Linked DNA regions of Homo sapiens: regions 1 and 3 are each linked to region 2. The links are contacts of gene promoters, found by promoter capture Hi-C in blood cells and fetal thymus (Javierre and others, 2016). All regions are on one chromosome and are shown on one strand. The core of a region is centred on a gene start or on the middle of the fragment in contact, and the rest is flanking DNA. Distances in the headings are between cores, read along the strand shown. Region 1 holds the start of ZNF394 (zinc finger protein 394). Region 2 holds the start of AZGP1 (alpha-2-glycoprotein 1, zinc-binding). Region 3 holds the start of TSC22D4 (TSC22 domain family member 4).

Region 1 (3,239 bases), core at 89-2,588, 480 kb before region 2:
GATAGAGGCTGACATTCTCTTGTAATCCTGAAAAGCCTTTCTGTGGACTATTTACACTAATTTTGGAGGTAGGTAGGAGCAAAATATTTCTTTAACTTATATCACTGTGATGTATGGGAATGGAAATATGATACAGATTAAAAGTAAACAAGGCCGGGCGCGGTGGCTCACGCCTGTAATCCCAGCATTTTGGGAGGCCGAGGCGGGCGGATCACCTGAGGTCAGGAGTTCGAGACCAGCCTGGCCAACACAGTGAAACCCCGTCTCTACTAAAAATACAAAAATTAGCCGGGCGTGGTGGCGGGCGCCTGTAATCCCAGCTACTCGGGAGACTGAGGCAGGAGAATCGCTTGAACCCGGGAGTCAGAGGTTGCAGCGAGCCGAGATCGCGCCATTGCACTCCAGCCTGGGCAACAAGAGTGAAACTCCATCTCAAACAACAGCAAGAACAACAAGAAAAAAAAAAAAAAGAAAAGAAAAAGAAAGAAAACCAGTAATCCGTGTTCGCTTTATGCTGAGGTCTATAACAAGTCATTTCCTGGATGGATCTGTCACTGTGGCCTACAGAAAGGAAGTCCATACACACCCCAATGTTCACACGAAATGTAATAAGGAAGTAAGTTCCGAAACGCAGAGCACCCCTAAACGCCTATTTTCCACACTCCCACCTCCAGAACAGGCCTTTCGCTTCTCACCTGGGATGAGGTTCCATCGAGCGCTCGCTGCAGAGCCCGCACCACGGCCACCGCCTCCTCCCCGCTCTCTGGGCAGTGCTCTCGCACCCAGGCTTGAAGCTCCTCGGGCAGGATGGTGAGGAACTGCTCCAGCACCAGCAGCTCCAGGATCTGCTCCTTGGAGAGCAGCTCGGGTCTCAGCCACCGACGACAGAGTTCTCGGAGCCGGCTCAGCGCCTCTTCCGGTCCAGCCACCTCCTGGTAACGCAGCTGCCTAAAGTGCAGTCGAGAAGTTTCGGGGTCCGGCGAAGCCGCGGGATAGTTGGGCTCCCAACTTCCGGGTGAGTCTTCCTCCACTTTCACGGGCAAAAGTCCGTCGCGTTGGGACGGCGCCGCGTCCTTGGACCTCGCAGCCATCACCCAGGGTCCCAACTCGGCGTCACTGCCGCGCCTCTGGGCGGTCAAGCTGGAATTCATCTTTCTCCGGCATGTGCTGCCCTTCCTGGAGTCTTCTTTTCAGGTGAAGAAAGAGCAAACCCAAGGAACTCATCAGCCGTCAACACCCTCCGGTCCCAAACACCGGGCCCCACCACACCAGGCCCCTCTCCACACTCTCCTTTCCTCAGCTTTGCGCCTACAACTCTCTCGGTCAAACAACCGAAAACATCCCGTGCCGGAAGCGCGTCATCGAGGCCTTGCGGCACCTTTCCCTGCATTTCCGGGGCCTCTCTAGGCGCCTGATGGGGTGAGGTGCATCTCGCTGGTTTATCGTCCTAGCCCCGCCCGACGCAGAGGGTCTTGACGGTTTCCCGCATCCCGAGGAAATACGGGCGTCCGAGCCGGTGGCCGAGCTCCGGCAAGGGCGGGAACCTTCAGGATTAAATAGACAGGGTCTGGCTCTGTCGCCCAGGCTGGACTGCAGTGGCGCGATTTCGGCTCACTGCAACTTCTGTCTCCCGGGTTCAAGCAATTCTCCAGCTTCAGCCTCCCAAGTATCTAGGACTACAGGTGCGCGCGACCACGCCCGGTTTATTAATTTTTCTGTGGGGATGGGGTTTCATTATATTGCCCAGGTTGGACAAAGTTGTTTTTTTTTCTTTTTTCAGGCGGACTCTCGCTCTGTCGCCAGGCTGTCTTAGCCTCCTGAGTAGCTTGGACTACAGGCGCGCGCCACCATGCCCGGCTACTTTCTGTATTTTAGTAGAGATGGGGTTTCACCATGTTGGTCAGGCTGGTCTGGAACTCCTGACCTCGTGATCCGCCTGCCCCGGCCTCCCAAAGTGCTGGATTACAGGCGTGAGCCGCTGCGCCCAGTTGGAAAAAGTTTTGTTTTTTTTTTAAAACTAAGTGCTTCCATGTACATCAGATGTTAACGACTTTGATCCTAACAAACAAACAAAAAAGATGAGGAAATTGAGGCTCAAAGATGTGTCCTGGCCTGGCTCAGTGGCGTATGCCTGTAATCCCAGCATTTTGGGAGGCTGAGGGGGGAAGATCGCTTGAAGCCAAGAATTGGAGACCCCAATGTCTACAAAAAATAAAAAATTAGCTGGGTGTGGTGGTGCACACCTGTAGTCCCAGTGAGAGGTGAAGCTAGTTGGACTTCCTGGGTCCAGTGGGGACTTGGACAACTTTTCTGTCTTACAAGAGGTTTGTAAAAATGCACCAATCAGCGCTCTGTAGCTAGCAAGAGGTTTGTAAAATGCACCAATCAGCGCTCTGTAAAATGGACCAATCAGCAGGATTCTAAAAGCAGCCAATCGCAGGGAGGATGGAAAAAAGGGCGTTCTGATACGACAGAAACGGACATGGGAGGGGACAAATAAGAGACTAAAAGCTCCCACCCCAGTCAGCGGAGGCAACCGGCTGGAGTGCTCTGCCATGCTGTGGAAGGTTTGTTCTTTCGCTCTTCACAATAAATCTTGCTGCTACTCACTCTTTGGGTCCGTGCCATCTTTAAGAGCTGTAACACAGTGAAGGTCGGAGGCTGCATTCTTGAAGTCAGCGAGAGGATGAACCCACTGGAAGGAACCAACTCAGGATACACCACTTACTTGGGAGGCTGAGGTGGGAGGATCCTTTGAGCCCAGGAGGTAAAGACTGCAGTGAGATATGATCGCACCAGTGCACTCCAGCCTGGGTGACAGAGCAAGACTCTGTCTCTAAAACAAAGTGTCTTGGTTGATGTCAAGCTGCTGGTGATTTGCAACTTGCATAAAATGAGACGATCGCTTGAGACCAGGAGTTCCAGGCCAGCCTGAGCAACATAGAGAGGATGTGTCTCCATATAAAAATAAAAAAATTTTTTTTTGAGAGGGAGTATCGCTCGGGTTCAAGCGATTCTCCTATCTCAGCCTCCCAAGTAGCTGGGATTACAGGCGCGTGCCACCACACCCAGCTAATTTTTTGTATTTTTAGTAGAGACGGGGTTTCACCATGTTAGCCAGGATGGTCTTGATTTCCTGACCTCGGCTCACTGCAACCTCTGCCTCCTGGGTTCAAGCAATCCCCCTCCCCACCCCACGCCCAAACAAACCGAACACTATTTATCAATCCAGGTGTGTT
Region 2 (3,236 bases), core at 559-3,058:
CTGGGTGACAGAACAAGAATCCATCTCAAAAATAATAATAATAATCATAATTTAATTGTACACTTTTAAATAACCAAAAGAGAGGCCAGGCGCAGTTGCTGACACCTGTAATCCCGGCACTTTGGGAGACCAAGGCGGGCAGATCACGAGGTCAGGATATCAAGACTAGCCTGGCCAACATGATGAAACCCGTCTCTACTAAAAATACAAAAAAATTAGCCAGGTGTGGTGGCAGGTGCCTGTAGTCCTAGCTACTCAGGAGACTGAGGCAGGAAAATTGCTTGAACCTGGGAGGCGGAGGTTGCAGTGAGCCGAGATCATGCCACTGCACTCCTGCCTGGGTGACAGAGTGAGACTCTGTCTCAAAAATAAATAAATAAATAAATAATCAAATACTTTTAAAAACTAAAATAACCAAAAAAGTATAATTGGATTGTCTGTAACACAAACGATAAAAGCTTGAAGGGATGGATACCTCATTTTTGATGATGTGATTATTTCACATTGCATGCCTGAATCAAAACCTCTCATGTACCCCATAAATATATACACATACTATGCACCCACAGTTTTTTTTTTAATTTACAAAAAAATCAGTAGACCTTGAGTAAAGTGGATTACTCTCCATAGTGGTGGGCTTCATCCAATCAGTTGAAGGCCTTAAGAGAAAAAGCCTCAGATGTCCCCTAAAGAGGAAAGAATTCTGCCTACAGTCTGCCCTTGGAATCAAGACTAAGACATCAACTCTTCCCTGGGTCTCCAGCCTGCTGGCCGGCTCTGAAGATTTAGGACTTGTTACTCCTCCCAATAGTGTGAGTCAATTTCTTAAAATAAATCTCTACTCTCTCTCTCTTTTGTATACATATATGTAAATCTCTTCCTATGTGTGTGTGTATCCATGTGTATACAGTGTATGTATGTATGTGTACGTACATATATATGTATATGTGTACCACCTATTAGTTCTGTTTCTCTGGAGAACCCTGAGTAATTCAGATTTTGGCACAGAATCAGATTAACATTCCAAAGTGATTGTTATATAACAAACATATAACACCTTTTCTGACAATTTGTAAATGTCATGAATTTTAAACTCACACAACTGAGAAGCCATTCGCTTCCATGTCTTTATCCTGCACATTCTCATGCCACAAACAGCCTCCTTCCCTTATCCTAGGAGTGACTCTTGATCTCCCGGAGCTCCCACTCTCTTCTCTTCCAGCCACTCGCCTTCCAGACCCACTGCAGTGGTGTCTGAGTGTGGGATTTGGGCACGGGTTTCCTTCTAGCACCATCCCTCCAGCCAACCTGCCTTCCCACTTTCCCCTTGGGGCTGCTCTCTCTTTCCCTCAGCGTCAGGCAGGTGTACCCAGCCATCGGAAGGAGGGAAGGAACAGGAGCAGAAGCAGCTCCAGGCATATGGTTCCTACTCCGTCCTGACTGTCTACCCCAAGCAGGTCGCTTGGTCTTTGGAGTCTTTGTTTTCACTGTAAACTAGGGGTTTTAGATTCAGATTCCTGAAGGTCTTATTTCGGGCCAGCGCAGAGGCTCCCTGAATGCTCCTGGAAGTGTGTGAGCTGAGGGAGTTGACAGCCTTGGGCACCCATTCCTGCCGTATGCCAGGGTATCCCAGCTGCATCCAGCCTGTCTCCCAGCCACATGTCCTGTTCCTCACCTCCTTCCAGTCCTCTCCAGCACCCATCCCTTGCTTTCCCCACTCACCATCTTGGTTCTCCTGGGGGACAGCAGGACCCAGAAGCAGCAGCAGAGACAGCAGGACAGGCACCATTCTTACCATTGTGTCTGCTTGGAGGGTTCTGGGCAGGAGGCACAGATATTATCCTGGGTCCTGGGGCCCTGCCCAGGGGAGGTGAATCTACAGGCCAATGGGAGTGCCAGGACGGGCTCCTCCCCTAATAGAGAAAAAAAAATGATACACAAGCTAGGCTGGGCAGAGGTTATGAAGAATGAATCTACACACAGGATATGCAAATTCAGAGCTGAGTCCAGAGTTGATCTCTGGACTGAGGCTTTGTGTGTGCCTGGGGTGGAAGGATGCCAGTGGGTAGGAGGTGCGTGTGATGGGTGGCAAGCGCCTGGGATGTGTCACCCTTCCAGTCTATTGTGACAACCCCTGGGCCAGTAGGGGCATTTGTGTGTTTTTGGACCACACTGTATCCCTGCCTTCCAGAAAAACTCTCAACATGTCCAAGACATGGACCTGGGTAGACCCCAGCTGGGGTGGGACCCTCACTCTCCCACATCCGATCCTGCCAGAGGCTGTGTCTGGAGGACAGTCACATTCCCATCTCTCCCTCCTTCCTTTCTGTGCCTGTGGAATCCCAGCCTTCCATGATGGAAGCAGAAATAGCCGCATCCTCCTTTTGCAGCCTCCCTGGCAACAGAACGAGCCTCCCAAAATGCTGGGATTAAAGGCGTGAGCCACCACGCCCAGCCAAGATAATTTTTAATGCATACAACAAGACTCGTTTTACACAGACGAAGCCAGTTATTTGAAAACCAGGTCTTTCCAGGCACGCTCAGTGTTGATGGGCTATTTGCAGAGAGACCCTCCGAATACAAAGCAACATGCTATTCTAAAGTGACTGGGGCCCGGGTGCGGTGACTCATGCTTGTAATCCCAGCACTTTGGGAGGCTGAGGTGGTTGGATCACCTCAGGTTGAGGTCAGGTACTCGAGACCAGCCTGGGCAACATGATGAAACCTCGTCTCTACTGAAAAAATACAAGAATTAGCTGCGCGTGGTGGCACATGCCTATAATCCCAGCACTCAGGAAGCTGAGGCAGGGGTTTCACCATGTTGGCCAAGCTGGTTTTGAACTCCTGACCTCGTGATCTGCCCGCCTCGGTCTCCCAAAGTGCTGGGTTTACTAGTGTGAGCAACTGTGCCCAGCCTCTCTTTTGGTTAAAGAAACCTACAAAGGGACCTTTTATAGTGACTTCAATTTTATGGAATAATTGTAATGCTCCTAAGGCCGTTGTGCTCCAAAGTCTAGCCGCAGGTATTGTTATTGATTGGGCTCCAAAAGGGCATTATTGGCAAGATTGCTCCAGCAAAAATACCTCATGCTCAGAGTTTAATTATTTGTTAGATTATGTAGAGGATGGATGGCAGTCATACAGGCTGAGACAATGGGTGTCCCCTTACCTATTTAAATGGATGGATGCAGGCATTACTCCTCCTAGACCAAAAATGATTCATCCCTTTGTTACCC
Region 3 (3,365 bases), core at 307-2,806, 500 kb after region 2:
CCTGGAATCCAAAGATCTGCCCCCGGCGCCCCCTGAGGCCCCTCGAATTCCCTCCAGGAGTCCGCCGAAGCTGTGGGGCTCCAGGTCTCGCTCATAAACATCCACACACGTCCAGCGACCGCGGCGATAAGGCTCTCCCAGGCCGTGGGGCAGCTTCACCACCCGGAAACGGGAGGAAGGGGCCCCAGGTGGTGGGGAGCCATTCCGGGGGGTGCCCTTGCCCCCCGGATCGGGGCTGGGCTCCCCATTGGGCAGGCGGGGCGGGGGCCCGGTTGGGGGCTGTGGGGTAGGGGGATCCGAAGCCCCTGGGCTCCCAGGGCCCTCATAGTCCGTGGTGACGCTGGTGATTTGGAAACTACTCTTCTTCTTGCCCCCGCTCATGGTCCCTGGGGCTCAGGGCTGGGCCAAGGTTGGGGGTGGGTTGGGGCTCCTTGAAGGGGCTCAGGCACCCCTGGAACAAGGGGGCCACATGGCGGGGACATCCGAGCCCCTGGGGACGTCTGGGTCCGACATGGCAGGAGGGCCTGGCGGGAACCGGGGGTGCCTGCTGGGTGAGGGGAGAAGAGGAGAGGGGAGGTGGCGGGAGGGGGGAGCAGGGGCAGGTTTTTCCTGCTGCTGTTGCTGCTGAACTCCAGAGCTGAGTTTGCAAACTGGAAAAAGAGGGGGAGAGAGAGAGAGAGAGAGAGAGAGAGAGTGTGTGTGTGTGTGTGTGTGTGTGTGTGTGTGTGTGTGTGTGTGTGTGTGAAACCAGTGGGCAGGCCACCTCCGGGGCTTCCTCTCCGGGGAGCAGAGTGGGGGAAGGGGAAACCGTCAGAGACCCAGAGACAGGCAAGAGATGACAGAGACCAGGGCAGAGGGGACTGGATCCAAGAAGGCACTCAGAGTAGAAAGAGGCAGATGAGTCCCAGAGTTGGGCATTTCTCGCCTGGGATTCTGACTCAGGGGGCCCGTATTGTCCCAAGAGCTCGGACTCCAGGGCCTGGGAGAACCAGGCTGAAGCAGCTCCCCAGCCTGGCCCGGCCACTCAGAGAGACCTCTCCTGGGCCTCGAGCCCCCACCCTCACCCCAGCTCCCACATCTCTGGGGCAGGCCCTGCCCGGCTACCCCCCAGCGCCCCACCCAGCCCTGAACCCTACCTCTGGGGCCTCGGCCACTGATCTGAGCCTGAGGGTCCCGGCGCCTAAGAGGTCGGGCTGTCCGTTCCCTGGGGCCTCCTGGCCATGGGCAGTGGCGGGGCACGCAGGCGGCGATCAGAGGCTGTCCCGTCCTCTCCGGGGGCCGCGGCTCATCCTGCCAGGCATCTCCGAGGAAAGTTTGCTCTCCGGAAAAGAAGAAACCCGCGCCTCCTCCGAGGAGCCTAGGAGCGGCCTCTGAAGCCCCAAGGGTCTGGAGACTGATGTGGGAGGGGGCGGCCGAGCCCCCCTCTGCTCCCGGTGGCAGCCAGCGAGTGGGTGTCCCGAGTCTCCTCCCGCGTGACCCTGCTGGGTCCGTGTCTCCGCTCCTCGGCTCCCCTGGGTCTCTGCCTCTCCGTCTTTCTCTTTCTGGGCTGTTGACAACCCCCACACCAGGAAGTCCTGCCTCCTCGGGCCTGCTGACTGCTCCTCTCCTCCTCCTCCTCCTCCTTCCCCTCTTCCTCCCCTTCCTCCTCCCTCCCTCCCTCCTGGGGCTTCCCGCCAGCTGGCCCGGGGCCAGGCCTGCCACAGCCGCTGCTGTTGCAGTTGCTGCAGCCACTGCTTAGGCTGCTGCTCCTGGGGGCCCCAAACAGACTCCCTTAACCCCACACCTGCCGGGCCCTAGCCCCACTCTTGCAGGGAGGGGCTGCAGGGGGCGGGGCTCGGGGAGAAAGGGGAGGAGCTTGCAGGGAGGCGAGGGATTCCCTTACTTGTAGTCAATTGCTGCCATTGGCCTAGAGACACACAGAAGAGACGGAAGGCACAGGCCGGGAGGTGTGCTGCATGCCCACCCAGAAGTTCCCAGTCCCTGCTGTGGGGCAGCTGTGGCTGTTACTGTCATTCTCCTTTGGTTTTCACAGCAACTGCATTATTCCCCCCATTCCTTATTTTTAAAAGTGGATTATTGCCGGATCCCGGTGGTGGCTCATGCCTGTAATCTCCGCACTTTGGGAGGTCGAGGAAGGAGGATCGCTTGAGACCAGTTTGGACAATATAATAGCAAGACCCCATCTCTACAAAAAATAAAAAAAAATAGCTGGGCATGGTGATGTGCACCTATAATTCCAGCTACTCAAAGGTGGGAGGATCGCTTGAGCCCAGGAGTTCGTGACCAGCCTGGGCAATATAACGAGATCCCCATCTCTACAAAAAATTTAAAAAATTAGCACTTTGGGAGGCCGAGGCGGGCGGATCACGAGGTCAAGAGATTAAGACCATCCTGGCCAACATGGTGAAACCAAGTCTCTACTTAAAATACAAAAATTAGCCAGGTGTGGTGGCGGGCACCTGTAGTCCCAGCTACTCGGGAGGCTGAGGCAGGAGAATCACTTCAACCTGGGAGGCGGAGGTTGCAGTGAGTCGAGATCACGCCACTGCACTCCAGCCTGGTGACAGAGTGAGACTCCATCTTAAAAAAAAAAAAAAACTGAGTGTGGTGATGTATACCTGTAGTCCCAGCTACTCAGGAGGCTGTGAGGCAGGAGGATCTCTTGAGCCCAGGAGGTTGAGGATGCAGTGAGCCAAGATTGTGCCACTGCACTCCAGCCTGGGCAACAGAGTGAGACCATGTCTCAAAAAAAAAAAAAAAGTGGATTATTATGAAAATTTTCAAACATGCCATGCAGACATGGGGAGACCATGCAAACTCCACACAGATGGTGGTCCCAGCCCAAAATCAATTTTTAGAAAATCATCAATGTTATAATGAAATGACATTCAATGAAATGACATTGTGTGGGGGCCAGCTGTAGTTTGCTGGACTATTTGAAATCAGATCCTAGATGTTATACTATTCCCCTTTCCCCCAACCTGCCCCCGCCTTTTTTTTTAGAGACAGGGTCTCTCTCTCTCTCTGTTGCCCAGGATGGAGTGCAGTGGTGCGATCATAGCTCACCACAGCCTGGAACTCCTGGGCTCAAGCCATGCTCCTGCCTCAGCCTCCCAAGTAGCTGGGACCACAGACACACACTACTACGCCTGGCTAAATTTCTTTAAAAAAAAATTTTTTTTTTTGGTAGAGATGGGGATCTTGCAATGTTGCCCAGGGTGGTCTTGAACTCCCGGCCTCAAGTGATCCTCCTGCTTCTGCCTCCCTAGTAGCTGGGACCACAGGTGTATACCACCATACCTGGCTAATTTTTTAGTTTTTGTAGAGACAGGTTATTACTATGTTGCCCAGGCTGGTCTCGAATT

Evidence for each region. The method cuts DNA at HindIII sites, captures the fragments that hold promoters and counts their contacts. A CHiCAGO score of 5 or more calls a contact.
Region 1: a contact is called between the fragment with the promoter of ZNF394 here and the fragment with the promoter of AZGP1 in region 2, in 3 of 17 cell types (erythroblasts, fetal thymus and M1 macrophages). The highest score is 6.4, in erythroblasts.
Region 3: the fragment with the promoter of TSC22D4 here is called in contact with the fragment with the promoter of AZGP1 in region 2 in 5 of 17 cell types (total B cells, neutrophils, non-activated CD4 T cells and 2 more); the score reaches 14.6 in total B cells.

What each region holds. Positions count from the first base shown.
Region 1 is chr7:99,498,943-99,502,181 of GRCh38, forward strand. ZNF394 (zinc finger protein 394) reads right to left here and starts at 1,339. Exons shown (of 3, transcript NM_032164.4): 1 at 696-1,339. The coding sequence starts at 1,151. RefSeq lists enhancers at 1-447, 670-949. The HindIII fragment of the contact is 23,896 bases long and covers 1-3,239 here.
Region 2 is chr7:99,974,223-99,977,458 of GRCh38, forward strand. AZGP1 (alpha-2-glycoprotein 1, zinc-binding) reads right to left here and starts at 1,809. Exons shown (of 4, transcript NM_001185.4): 1 at 1,723-1,809. The coding sequence starts at 1,798. The HindIII fragment of the contact is 13,516 bases long and covers 457-3,236 here.
Region 3 is chr7:100,477,658-100,481,022 of GRCh38, forward strand. It overlaps TSC22D4 (TSC22 domain family member 4), which reads right to left and starts at 1,557. Exons shown (of 5, transcript NM_030935.5): 1 at 1,137-1,557; 2 at 1-650. The coding sequence starts at 381. TSC22D4-C7ORF61 (TSC22D4-C7orf61 readthrough) reads right to left here and starts at 1,557. Exons shown (of 6, transcript NM_001395846.1): 1 at 1,137-1,557; 2 at 1-650. The coding sequence starts at 381. RefSeq lists enhancers at 1,193-1,262, 1,963-2,072 and a silencer at 1,713-1,872. The HindIII fragment of the contact is 34,188 bases long and covers 1-3,365 here.